4 separate regions of the Homo sapiens genome follow, and regions 2, 3 and 4 are each linked to region 1. Evidence: promoter capture Hi-C in 16 types of primary human blood cells and fetal thymus (Javierre and others, 2016). All regions are on one chromosome and are shown on one strand. The core of a region is centred on a gene start or on the middle of the fragment in contact, and the rest is flanking DNA. Distances in the headings are between cores, read along the strand shown. Region 1 holds the start of MRPS9 (mitochondrial ribosomal protein S9). Region 2 has its middle 91 kb from the start of CD8B2. Region 3 has its middle 11 kb from the start of UXS1. Region 4 overlaps UXS1 (UDP-glucuronate decarboxylase 1).

What was found. The method cuts DNA at HindIII sites, captures the fragments that hold promoters and counts their contacts. A CHiCAGO score of 5 or more calls a contact.
Region 2: a fragment that was not itself captured here is called in contact with the fragment with the promoter of MRPS9 in region 1 in 1 of 17 cell types (activated CD4 T cells); the score reaches 5.1 in activated CD4 T cells.
Region 3: a contact is called between a fragment that was not itself captured here and the fragment with the promoter of MRPS9 in region 1, in 1 of 17 cell types (naive CD8 T cells). The highest score is 5.0, in naive CD8 T cells.
Region 4: a fragment that was not itself captured here is called in contact with the fragment with the promoter of MRPS9 in region 1 in 1 of 17 cell types (total CD8 T cells); the score reaches 5.3 in total CD8 T cells.

The regions. Positions count from the first base shown.
Region 1 is chr2:105,036,327-105,039,653 of GRCh38, forward strand. It overlaps MRPS9 (mitochondrial ribosomal protein S9), which reads left to right and starts at 1,743. Exons shown (of 11, transcript NM_182640.3): 1 at 1,743-1,901. The coding sequence starts at 1,767. It overlaps MRPS9-AS2 (MRPS9 antisense RNA 2), which reads right to left and starts at 2,170. Exons shown (of 3, transcript NR_110603.1): 1 at 2,128-2,170. RefSeq lists enhancers at 1,150-1,359, 1,380-1,429, 1,480-1,529, 1,700-2,029, 1,783-2,725. The HindIII fragment of the contact is 6,591 bases long and covers 1-3,327 here.
Region 2 is chr2:106,576,610-106,579,936 of GRCh38, forward strand. No RefSeq gene overlaps it. Among named protein-coding and RNA genes, the nearest start is that of CD8B2, 91 kb to the left of the region's middle. The HindIII fragment of the contact is 1,899 bases long and covers 685-2,583 here.
Region 3 is chr2:106,203,775-106,207,101 of GRCh38, forward strand. No RefSeq gene overlaps it. Among named protein-coding and RNA genes, the nearest start is that of UXS1, 11 kb to the left of the region's middle. The HindIII fragment of the contact is 3,032 bases long and covers 127-3,158 here.
Region 4 is chr2:106,161,598-106,164,924 of GRCh38, forward strand. UXS1 (UDP-glucuronate decarboxylase 1) reads right to left here. Exons shown (of 15, transcript NM_001253875.2): 3 at 3,139-3,202; 4 at 2,070-2,113. Among named protein-coding and RNA genes, the nearest start is that of UXS1, 31 kb to the right of the region's middle. The HindIII fragment of the contact is 1,504 bases long and covers 954-2,457 here.

The DNA.
Region 1 (3,327 bases), core at 493-2,992:
CCATCCGTTGACAAAAAGAGTCGAACTCTGTAAAATATTTTGAAGAGATTTATTCTGAGACAAATATGAGTGATCATGGCCCATGACACAGTCCTCAGCAGGTCCTGAGAATTTGTGCCCAAGGTGGTCAGGGCGCAACTTGATTTTATACATTTTAGGGAGGCATGAGACATCAATCAAACACATTTAAGAAATACATTGGTTTGGTCCAGAAAGACCTGGGACTGATAGAAAGGGAATGTTCAGTTTAAGATAAAGATTGTGGAGACCAAAGTTCTCTGTAAGTCTTACAGTGGCTGCCCTTAGAGACAATGGATGACAAATGTTTCCTATTCAGATCTTAGTTAATCTCTTTAGGATTGGGAGGGTCTGGAAGAAAAAGATCTAGCTATGTTAATACAGATTCTTTACAGATGCATATCCCACCCCTCCAAGGACAGCTTTGCAGGGCCATTTCAAGATATGGCAAAGAAACATGTTTTGGGGTAAAATATTTTGATTTTCTTCCTTGTCTTGTAATGTTATGCCAGAGTCAGGTTGGAAAGTAAGTCACCATATATAGGGTTAAGTAAAACCCATCTAATAAGAATTTATGATTTGTAGGGCATGACTCCCCAAATCCTGTAGATAGGAATCTTGGGCAAGATAAAAAAATCAGAGTTTAGTCCTCCGACCTCTGCCAATTTCTCAAGATATCTTTTGCTAGTCTAAAAGCTAATAACAAAAAGAACAACAGGATGAGCATTTTATACAAGTAAATGTATTCCATTTAAAAGATTTTTCTTTATTGTGAAATTCTGCCATTCTACCTTTTTAATGCTAAAAAGTTCTGTTTCGTGAAATGATGGTGATAGTAGACGGCATTTATTTGCTTGACAACTTTGTATGATCTCAGATTTTCTGTGTGTTTTACTTTTACTGACCCTTCAAATCTAAGTGTGTGTAAACCCTTTTAAAGTGCGTTACTACATCATTTAGTATGTGTTTCGTAGAAAGCAACCTGGGAGTTAACTGCCAGGAGCACGCAAGTTTCAGAAAGCAAGACATACTCATCTCTATTCAACAATTAATCAGTTCTGATTGGGTTTCAAGTAAGGCTTAGTACCAACGCTTAGGGAGGGGCGTGCAAAAACGAGAAAGGTAGTGTTTGACCTTACCGGTTTAAGGTTTATCCTGTGCATTATACAGTTAAGAAACAACGCAGGAGAGTGCCAGGGAACCGAGAGGGGCTTGACAGTTGCTGCAGGAGAGTCTTGACTTGGAACCAGACGAACGTGGAAAGTTAGAGGAGGGGAAAACCCCTACTAGGATAAGGCAGACAGGAATCAAGGCTTGGAGCGCATCTGGGGCCCCGGCCGCCCTGCCCAGGTGGAGGAAGAGCCGGCTCGAGGTGCAGCAAGGGGGCTGGGAAGGAAGGGCTGGCTAAAGCGCCACGTGGATGTGAGTGCCAAAGAGACTAGGAGAGCGTGGAAGTGAGTCCCGAAGAGACTGAGTTCAGGACGTGAAGAGAAAGAGGCCGAGAAAAACGACCCACCAGCGATCCTTCTTGAGGTCGACACCGAGCAGGGGTGGAGTCGGATACGCCCCGCGGACACCATGCACCCAATCAGCGACGAGCTGTCGCGGATCGCGGGACACGCCCCCTGATCCAAAGGCCCGAGAAGCTCTTGCACAGGACAGCCTCTGGAACCCCGCGCCATTAGCGCCTGCGCCGTCTCTAGGCCCCGCCCCCTCACCCCTCCGGTCCTGGAGCTCCCACAGCTAACATGGCGGCGCCCTGTGTGTCCTACGGCGGAGCAGTTTCGTACCGGCTTCTTCTCTGGGGTAGGGGTAGCCTCGCCCGGAAGCAAGGCCTCTGGAAAACCGCGGCCCCTGAGTTGCAAACAAATGTCAGATCCCAGGTAAGGCCTGGGAAGACTGGAAGCGGCTTACCTCTGCCGCGCGAGGATGTGGAGCCAGCGCGGACACCTTCCCCCAGCGTCTCGCGTGCCTTCAGGCAGGGACTCTAGGATCTTAGGTATTTAGTGGAGGTCTGAGGTTGGGGGGGAGGAGGTGGGTATTGGCGTGCAGTAGCCGCTCTAGAGGTTGTTACTTGTTTTTTTGCGGGGTGCAGCGAGGGGAACTTACCTGAAGGTAGAAGTGGAGCGACCTCCTCCTTCATTTGGCTGCTGAGCTAAGTAAGGGTCGGTGCCTAGGTCTGTGTTGGGTCCAGTCCTACCCTGCCCTGCTGTCTAGGGAGGAGGAGGGCCGCGCCAGAGAAGAATGATGGGAATTGGATTCCTGCAGGTGCCTGGAAGACAATGGAGAAAGTCACGTTGTGTAGAGGACAGTGACTTTTTGAAAGTGCCTTCAATATGCGCAATTTCTGGCTTCTTAATTTTCCCGAATCCCCCTCTATGGAAAGATGCAGGCCAGAACTTGTACGTTTCGTTTAATCCAGGGAGAAGTGGGGAGTCAACAGCTGGATGGCTGATGATGCCAGTTTACTGACATGCGATCTCAGAGCAGGAAAAAGATTTGAGAGGGAAGAAACGAGTTTAGTATGGGATTATGTTTTTAGGCATCTGGGATTTCCAGTAGGTCTACGGATAGTCAAGTGTATAGCTCAGGAGGAGAACTGATTTCGAAATGCCCTGTTACCTTGTAAATGGTAACTGAGGCCTTGTAAACAAATTAAATTACCTAGGGAGAGTGTACTGAGGAGTAGGCAGAGGGACAGGGCCCTGAAGGACAAATAAGAAATAAGAGGCCTCAAGAGATTGAGAATGAGGGACCAAAGAAGCAGGAGAGAAACCAGCCAGTGTGGTGTCATGGAAAACAGGTGAATGTTTCAAGGAGGGAGAGTGATAACAAGTACCAATTATTGCAGGAAAGTCAAATACCATACTTTAAAAACTATATTTAAAAAAAAAAACATCTTTTTGTATGTTCTTTCCTTTATATTTTAATCTAGATCAACCAGTCCATTCTATCTATTCATGTGGACATTTGTTTTTTTTTTTTTTCTTACTGGAAAATGTGCTAGAAATTTTTATTTTTTCATGCATCTCTTTGAGTATATCTTTGCTACATACGCATGATTATGAGAGGGACTATATCATACAGAGTATTTTTATTGTTGACATTTAATGTATGTATTGGGGGATGGCTAACTTTCTGTCCCTCCTGGTATCTATTCTTCTATGTTTTTTCCATGTTCTTATAATCATGCATAAACATACATGCACAGGTGTACTTTACAAAAAATGGTACCATATTTGATTGCATTTTACTTTCTGCTTTTCTCTTGTACATATGCAGTATATTGTAAAGTAGAAATCCTTCAGG
Region 2 (3,327 bases), core at 384-2,883, 1.5 Mb after region 1:
TGCCAATATGTTCAGGGAAACTCTTGTTGCTAAAATATTCATATCATAATCATAAAAATAAACAAGAGACATGGAAAGTTATCATAAGAAAATAGACCATACGCGCAAAAGAAGTCCCTTGAGATGATGAAAATATGACAAAAGGGCCACAAAACGGAGCGAAACTAAGTTTTTTTTTTTTTTTTTTTTTTTTTTTTGAGACAGAGTCTCGCACTGTCGCCTGGGCTGGAGTCCAGTGGCGTGATCTTGCCTCATTGCAACCTCTGCCTCCTGGGTTCAAACGATACCCCTGCCTCAGCCTCCTGAAGAGCTGGGATTACAGGTGCCCGCCACTATGCCCAGATAATTTTTTTGTGTTTTTAGTAGAGATAGGGTTTCACCATGTTGGCCAAGCTGACCTCATGATTCACCTGCCTCGGCCTCCGCAAGTGCTAGGATTACAGGCGTGAGCCTCCGCGCCCGGCCTAAGGTTGTGTTTTTTAAAAGAGAGTCCTGTCTTCTGGAGCCGCACACGCCTGCGTTTAGAGATGAAAGTGTGTCCGGAGCTGGTTCCTGCTGGTGGGTTGGTGGTCTGGCAGACTTCAAGAATGAAGCCGTGGACCTTCGAGTGTTACAGCTCTTAAAGATGGCATGGACCCAAAGAGTCAGTGGTAGCAAGGTTTATTGTGAAGAGCGAAAGGACAAAGCTTCCACAGCATGGAAGGGGACCCTAGCACGTTGCCACTGCTGGCTGGGGTGGCCAGCTTTTATCCCCTTATTGTCCCCTCCCATGTTCCATTTCCCTTCTATCAGAGTGCCCTTTTTTCAATCCTCCCTAGGATTGGCTACTTTTAGAATCCTGCTGATTCGTGCATTTTACAGAGCGCTGATTGGTGCATTTTACTCAGCACTTACTGGTGCGTTTTACAATCCTCTTGTAAGACAGTAAAGTTCCCCAAGTCCCCACTGGACCCAGGAAGTCCAGCTGGCCTCACCTCTCAAAAGCTCTGATGTCTGGGAGTTATTTCCAATCTGGGGAAGAAAAAGTGGATTGAAGTGTAAGAGAAAAAGATTGGTTCATTCACGGATGATGGGTGAAGCCTGATGATGGGCATGTGGTGTTTGCAGCATGATTGGCAAGGTTTAGTCCATGACCTCCTCCTCTTCCTAGGGTGTCCCTCACTCAGTTTCCTTTGTGGGCACCTGTGAACGATGGGCTGTGTCTTCAGCCCTCTCTCCTCTCCTCTTTCTACAGAGGGAGGTTCTACATTTTCCACGTAGACATTTCTCCTGAGCCCCCGCGTGTCATGGATGTCATGGACTCAAAAGCCCCTGGGGCATGTGTAGCTCAGGGTGGCAAGGGCTGAACACATTGACTTGTCCTTAACCGGCTCCTTCTCCTCTCTCCATTTCTACGAAGCACCTCACCATGCACCTCTTACCCAAGTCAGAAACCTGAGCCTTATCCTGGATTTGGCTCTTTCTGAATCTACGAATCTGATTGTCCCTCCAGCCTGCCTGATATGCCTCACAGGTCCCATGTCTCTCTCCCACCTTCGTGCCACTTATCCTCTGGACATACAATGGGCATACACCAAGCATCTTGCTTCACTCCACATCGTAGTTACGGTGACTTTCTCAGGTAAAAAGCTGGCCACTCTCGCACATATTCTGTGGCCGCTCAGCGCCAGGAGCATATCAACCAGGCTCGTCCCAGGGCACACGGGATTGACTTTCCCAATCTCCTGCCCACCTGCTTGGCCTCATCTTTACTACTCCTGCCCTCCTCTTTACCCCCCAGCAGAATGGAAGTCTGATTTGAAGATCGCGATTTCATTCCTATGTCACTTTGCACGTGCATTTCCCTTTCTGAAACAACTTCCCTGTTTGACAGCAAAAGCCAAGACTTTTTCTCTTTGTTTTCTCAGCATCCAGCAGAGTGTTTAATGCATATATGATGCTTTGCTAAATATTTTGAAAAGATAGATAGGAACGCTTCAGAAAACATCATGTTTATTTAGACATATGTCTTTGTTGTCTTGCCTCGCCAATCAGCTACCAACTACAGACGGTTACAGTGGTTCAATTTAGGCTTTTTTGACTTTATGATGGTGCAAAAGCAATATGCATTTAGTAAAAATAGTACTTCAAATTTGTAATTTCCATCTTTTCTGGGGCTAGGGATATGTGGAACAATACTCAGAATGGTGGGCAGGGCAATGAGCCAGATGTCCCAGTCAGCTATATGATCATGAGGGCAAATAGCTGATAATGTACAGGGTGCTATGATTTCAGATGATGTTACCTCACTGTAGGCTAATGTACGTGTTCTGAGCATGTTTAAGGTGGGCTAGGCTAAGCTATGATATTCTATAGGTTAGGTGTGTTAAATGCATTTTTGACTTGGATAGTTTCAACTTAACCATGGGTTTATCGGGATGTAACCCCATTGTGTAAGTTGGGTTGCATCTGTACTTTGAAAGTAACATTCTTCATCATGCACATAAAAACTCACTCCACTTCCAGTTCCTTTAATTCCTTAGATGACTGTGTCATTTGGAAATGAGGACAAAGTAGTAGTCATCTATGAGACCCATTGTTGGAAGCTTTCTAATTTTCTTATGAGAGTATCCATCACTTGAAAAGCTGAAATAGTATAGCATTTTTTATGGGCAATGTATGAGAAACTGCTATAATTGGCTCTAGATTTATAGCAAATAAGACAATAAATACAGCAAACTGGATTGGTTTTTAAGGCAGCAGCCATTGTGAAACAAAAAAATGAGATTGATATTTTCAATCTCAAAATGACTATGTTGTAAACTGTTTAGAGATCATCTATTATCAGACTAAAAGTCAAACAATCTGGAATTTCTCTTAGATTTTCAAAGATGATTGGGAGATGGACTCAGATGGCACCATGTGGCAAGAATTCATAAGATTACACACGCTGTTTGTAAATTGACCTTTAAATATTAGGCTTGACGGAGAGACAAGTGTATGGGCAGATTTGAATTCAGATAAAGAAAGAATGTGAAAGTATCTGTGTAAACTGTAAACTAAGTTATCGATACAGTGTAGGTTTTTTTCTGCACATAAACACGATGTACATGATTTCAAGCTAGCTCAAATTTATGAAAACTCCCAGACAGCATGAGAAATAAGAAGGAAGCAAGAGAGCAACACTTCCCCTTGCTTGCTGCCCTGTGGGTCATTGCTCGCTAACGTCCAAGGTCAAAGCCCTTGGCCGAGGGGCACTGCTGGCAGCCTCTGGGCTGGCTGACAGAAAAATACACTACCACTTTTCATCTTGGTGAGTGGTCTGGCGACCTAGGGTCAAAACCGCAG
Region 3 (3,327 bases), core at 393-2,892, 1.2 Mb after region 1:
AACCTGGCTCTGGTGTCCACCTCTCTCAAGACAAACACATGTAGAAATTTGAGACAGAGATAGGCAGAGCTTGGTTTAAATTCTAGCTCTGTCATTTTGTAGCATGTGACTTGGTCACATTCATTAAGCTTTTAGAACTTAACTTCACATCACTTGTTATACGGACAGCTGATCCATAAATAGCACAATTATTGTGAGGATTAAATAAGCAAATGCAAGTAAGTGATTCGCAGACTCTCAGCTCATGCTATGGGAATTTTTTTCTCTTTTGGGGACCTCACTCAAGGAGTTGTCTTCTTACCCTGTTCATTACTCATTATCACTATCCATCCATGCAATACATCCAATTATTAACATTGTTCTAGAAAATAGTCTACTATTGACAAATGCTTTCAAATACATAAATTATGAAATGCTGAGGTGTTCCTGCCAATGCTAATTACTAAGGCAAAACTCCAGCTACCATTTCACTAAGATTTCCAAAGGAGTCAATTGTCCCCCAAAACTAAGCTCCTTCCTTCTGTGTTCTATGAGATCCACTGCCTTAGGGTGACTGTGAGACACAGCAGTAGCATTAGAAAGGGCTCACGCCCGCTTCTTTTTGGTAAAAGAGATTTTGTTGCTAAACATGGTGAGCCACTGAACCCTCCAATAGGGGATGAGGCTTTGAACAGGGGATGAGTTTTGTCCACTGTTAAACAGATTCCAAAGGTGCTTGGCTGCATGTTCAGGCCTTGGGGCATGGAGCTAGGATTGAGGCTCTGGTGCTGCCTGAACCCAGACATTGCAGACTCAAGATGATTGAGGGCAAGTGCATTGGAGGGTGGGGGCAGGGGGAGCGTGGGGGTGGGGGACAGGGCAGGATGGAGAGGAAGGGGGTAGGGTGGGACAGGACAGGGAGGATGAGGGCAGGGCACAGCAGGGAGGTTGTTGTTCTGCAGGGCTGGGTGAGTGTTAGGGAAAGAATGCTAATGCACCTAACCAAGAAGTATTAAGTCACAAAGTTTTGTTCTTGGTTGTGCAAAGAAGAATCACCATGTGACATGAGTCAGGTCCTCCTAGGAGTTGCCATCAGGGAGGGAATTATATGATATCCCTGAAAACCAGGTCTAAGCAAAGCATACAACACTATAATTGTCCTCTTATTTTTCTATAAAATGAGGATTTTCACATGTTCCTTATGAGTTGCTGTAGCCAAAGCCTTCTTCCTTGTGATCTGGGAAAAAAGGGTTCCTCCTGTTTGTCTTAGATCACCCTGCAGGTACATGTGGGTTGGAGCTGGTGTCACTCACTCCCAGATGAAGGCTTGGAGGTCCATGAAGGGGTGAATAAGACCAGGGTCTCATGGTTTCTTTATCCTTCTTCAGCTTTGTCTGCTTAGTTTTCAGACTATCCTGAGGGAGAATGTGGAGGAAGACAGGTGGCAGCCGAGTTCCTGACAAGGAACCCACGGGTGCGTGGGGACTTGCTTTTTCTCCTGAGTTGATTACCCTTTGCCAGCAGACGAGCACATTTCTCCTCTTGGCCTGGATCTTATATTAGTAAGGGCGTCCGGGAAGTGTTCATGCAAGTTCTGTTTTTCCAGAACTCTGGAATCCTCATAGCAGGTGAAGAACTGATCATGAGATCATGTCCTTCCCAACATGTACATTAATTTTTTCATTCTCCATTGAGGATGTCCTTTCAGGGAACATAAGTGAAGGGTTGTCATTTTCTCATCCATCCATTGCCGTGATAGGGAAATGAGTCACTCAGTTAACCATGTCAGTGGCTGCAGGGGTCTTAGGTGTGTGGTGACCACAGGTGACAGGGATGTGTGACAGCAGGTGCTGAAGGTCGGGTATGGAGGTAGGGTTTCACCAGGTGCTCAGCCTGTCAGGCCAGGCAGCTTCCACGTACGCTACTTTGTCTCTATCCTCATCTGTTTTCTTTCACAGCACTTACAACTGCCTGAACATTGTTTGTTTACTTAAATCTAGTTTATCAACCACTAGAACACGTCTTCCTGACCACAGTTTTGTGTCTTTATTACTACTCCATCTCCAATATTGAGAACAGTGCTGGGACCTCAATGACTATTTTTTTGAATAAATAAATGGATTAAATTTTTTACTAAGTGACAATACTGTTTTAAGCACTAAGCTAGGGTTTGAGACCATAGTAATAAAAATATAGCCATTTTCTTTTCCAAATAGAACCTAGATTGTTCCAATGGATCTTAATTTTATTGCATTAATTATGAGAATAAATTCCACAACCCACTGTGGAAACATTTAAATCTTCACTGCTGCTGAGACTCAGGGGCTTGGTGTCAGGGGTTTTCCTTCCTGCTCCAGGGAAGGGCCCTCAATGTCCTTGGTGTTCAAGGTGCTCTTCCCCGGGTGCCCTTCCATGCTCGCCTTGTCTTGTTGGGAGCCTGCCTTAGATCTGAAGATCACGCACAGTTCTCACACAGAATTCAAAATCCATGCAACTTTGCCCAGAGAGCATCAGCTCTGCAAGTCATTCATGATTTCCCAGTTGAAACAAGGAGCAGTGCTGTGGAGGGAAGGAAGGATTTCCCCAGAGCCCAAATCCAGGTGAGCTGCAGACAGATAGGCTCAGTGCAGGAGGTGACTGGTCAGTGAGGGACAGAACTTTGATAATGTCGAATGCAGATGACCTTGAATGAATAATATTTTTAGAAAACTATGAGAAGCCATTGGGAGAAAAATTCCATATATAATGTTATTATTTCTCATATATGTACCAGTTTCATTCACATATATTCATGTCTTCTTAGAGGTAAATTTTCACATTGTGACCTTTGCCCTGGTCCTTTCCCTTTGATGATTTTCCTTTTCATGACCTCTCCAATATTACATCTTTATTTTTTCTCTTCATTCTTGAAAATACTTTAAAATTTTTAATTTCCCCAAATGTCTTCCTAGTCACTGGTGTATTCCTCCATTTCACGTCTCTCCCATGTGAGAGCCAGTATTTGAAACCTACCCACGTGAGCCTTGTATCCTTTTCAGTGTGTTCATTCTCCTAATGCCAGTCTAGCAATTTAATTTTTTCAATTATTTTAGGCAGGCAGGGTGGCCTTTAAAAACAAGAAATGGTATCCATACACTTTCTCTGGAGGAAGGAGTCCCTCTACCTGCTTGTCAATGATAAGCTTCATGGGGGTGAACCCTGTTCCTCCAGATTAGAGACCTGGGGATGGGCTGAGTTAGGAACACACCACAGTCACATGGCTTTAATTAGAGCTGGGAGTGTGTCCCTTCATATGGTTTTGGATATTTGAATTTAGGAAAGAAATTAACCTGAGCTCAAAATTATAAC
Region 4 (3,327 bases), core at 456-2,955, 1.1 Mb after region 1:
CCTTACAACCCCAAATTAGTCCTTTACTAATCATTAATATTTTATGCCATTCCAGATTAAACTTACTGTTTAGCCAGTAAGCAGTATTCTTACTTAGAATTTAAATTATCATTTGCCATCTATTCAAAGAACATTTAAAGATACAGAGTTAAAATTAAACAAATGGCATATAATCAAAGTATTAAGCAATGGGAGTGTGGTAAAAGAGAAAAAGCCCACATACAATCCATTTACTCAGGATTCTAGAATGACACTGTCTTCTTTCTTTCCCTGTACAAATATAACCTGTAACTTCCAAAAATATCTTTAGTTCTTGGGGGCCACTTTGCTCAAAGTGACAAGCACGTCAAGTAAACCTATTTCCAGTTACATTCTTATCTTGTCAGTGTCAAGATGGTTGTTTGATCATCTTTATCACACACTGAGTCAGGAAAAGTAAGCTAGACGGAGTTCCATCAATTTCCACCGTCACGCTTTTTTAGCCAGGCCTACGCTTGACCTTCTGACACAGTAATGCAGGCACGCGGATCACCTGACTTGCTGACCAACCTGAAGGACGGAACCATTCCAGAATGAGTCACCTGCAAGCAGCCCGAGAGGCAAATGTTTGCCCTTTGCCACTATTTTCAAGGCGGTTTCACAGGTTGACAAGAATAAATTATTAGTAAATTCTTAGGATTGAATTCTTATTTGTGCTTCTCCATCCAGTTTAAAAGCACACACTCAAAGATATCACAAAAGTATCAAAGAGATTGCATAATTCTCACATGTTGAGAGCTCTTGTTTGTAAGCTATTGCCTTAGGGAAGTTATCGAATTGAGACATTTTTCTTTTCATAAATAAATTCTATTGTCTAAAGAAAATAATCACTGGTGGACAAGTTTTTAGACCAATATAGAAAATGTGTGGTGGGTTATTTCTTATTGTTCCAATTTTTCTAAAAAGAAAAAAAAAGCTTCAATTAAGATCTCTCAATTCTGCTGTCTTATCAAAGGCAGATTTTCTGGCTCCCATCCAAGGAAATATTACAAGCTGCATAACTAAAGCACAGAATCATGGCAAAAAAAATTTAAAGCACAAGTAACAACCTTATATTACTAAGGAATCTGTTAAAAATTACTGACAACTTTTGTTCTGATAAGTGCTGAAATTAACAGTTTGCTTGACTGCTCAGTTGAGGATAAGAATCAAGTGAATGACACATTTTGTTTAATGACTCTTCTCCAGTCGTATTTCCCTTCGATCATTTAATGAAAATCAAAGGAAAACTGCTCTTCATTTTTTCATTTTTGTTCTGGACTTGATAAAAGGCTCATTCAATGCTGACACACATCGTCCAAACTCATCCCAATAAGGGGAAAAAATCACATCAACTTTAATAAATGCTGTCATTTTTCTTTCTAAAATTTCTGAAGATTCAACTGCTACTCTAGATAGTTTTCCACATACAGTACGTGCAAGAGGAAAGTCCTGGAGGCTGAGGCTCAGCGGCCTCGGGAGTGCCTGAGAGAGAACCTGAGGGCAATAGTGTCCCAAAGGGTGAGGAGGGGTTCTCTCCGAAATCTGACTCAAATAAACATTTCTATCATATTACATAATTCTTCTGCCCTCTCACTTCACCTGGACTAAATTCTGGAAACCTCCTCATGAACTCTGGTGACAAAAGCAGCTAAATGACTACACATGACACACCATAGGCTCCACATCCTTATTTTGTGGTGTTTGCATATGGTACATTTCAGGCCCACTGGATTGTCCTCCTATTTTGGAATTCTATCCCACTGATCAATATATGCAGAAGTTCAAGGAAAATGTGAGGCCTGGCCTCAACTTCTATGTAATAAATTTGCAGAAATTCAGACGTTCAGAGTTTGAAGAAGGAAGATCTTAACACATCTAGATTGATTCTTCTCCCCATGTTCTATCTGGGTATTACACTCAAAGTGGGGGAAATGCGTATACAGACATTTATTTAGGTTGGCAGAGTTTGGAGCAAACAAACAGAATTAATTACTCAATTGAGACAAACTTATTTTAACTATTGACTTTAAGACAAAAAGTACACATACCTTTTTTCTAAATCTCTGATTTTCTCTCTTAGTGGTTCAACCATCTAGAACAATAATAACAAAAATCAGTTTTAAAGCAAAAACACAGTTCTCAACCCCTTTCACCCCATTCTGATGTTTCAGATAAGGCAAAACAGGTTTTAATTTCTTCTACAAATTAACTTCCAGTTTGAAATTAAGATACACCACTTGCATCACAATGCTAGAATTGAACAGATAAACTGTCCATTTGAACTCTTACTCCATAAATGCCTCGGTTTCTGAGACAATTAATGTTTTTGCTCACCCATCCTACTAGGAAGAATGTAAAAGGTGTTTCAGGCTCATAAAAACAGATCAACACTATCCATCTCTTTTTAGGAACAATCCCCTAAGCATGGCCCACAAAAGCTTAACATCTTGTTTCTGCAATTACTGTGTATACTCATGTTATCAGCTGCAGCACATAAATTGCAGGCTGTGAGTCAACCTACATCCACGTCTGTAGACACTGTGGACTCAGGCAGAAAGACAGCAACTCAAGGGCTTCCCAGGACTCCCTAAGTTGGCTTCAAATCCAAAGTAAGTAACCTCCCATCCCCTCCCCCACAGCCCATGTTACAACGGTCTGGCTGTATCTACATGTATTTAAATAGGAGGTGCATAACTGAGCATAGGTGCTAGCCTTCAGCTGGGTGGGTGTGCAACGTCTCCATCTGTGCACGTGGCCTAGCATCCGATTGGTGGCCATTGTTCTTTTCAGCACCTGTGCCAGTGAGAGGATGTTTGTACTCATCTCTATCTCCCAAAGGCAATCACTTCCCTTTCTCTAAAAAACGCTTACCTGAAAAGTCATGTAAAAGTCTAAATCCATTTTGCCTTTGAGGTAGAATTTGTTTTAATACATCAAAAATGGACCAACAGTAACAGACTGCATGTCCTCTTAAATAAGGGAGTAATTTTTTGAGACACGGTTGCAAAATCACAGAACAGCATCAAGCTGCCACAATAAGAATGACAGCACGAGCAAAGGAAGTAAAATTGACAAGTATACAGATGAAATAGATACAAAAATAGAAAAAAGACTAACCTCTTCAATCTTGCTTTCAATTTTTAGTTCACCATTTTCCTGGATAGACCTGTTGAGTAGAAAGCTATAAAACTGAGATCAACTGAAAGGCTTTGTGACTTTAAGACTGTTTCTGAATAAATTACCCTAACATAACCCAACGGATGCAGACCACCTCTGTCTCCTGCTCAAGTATCAGTCATGTGTACA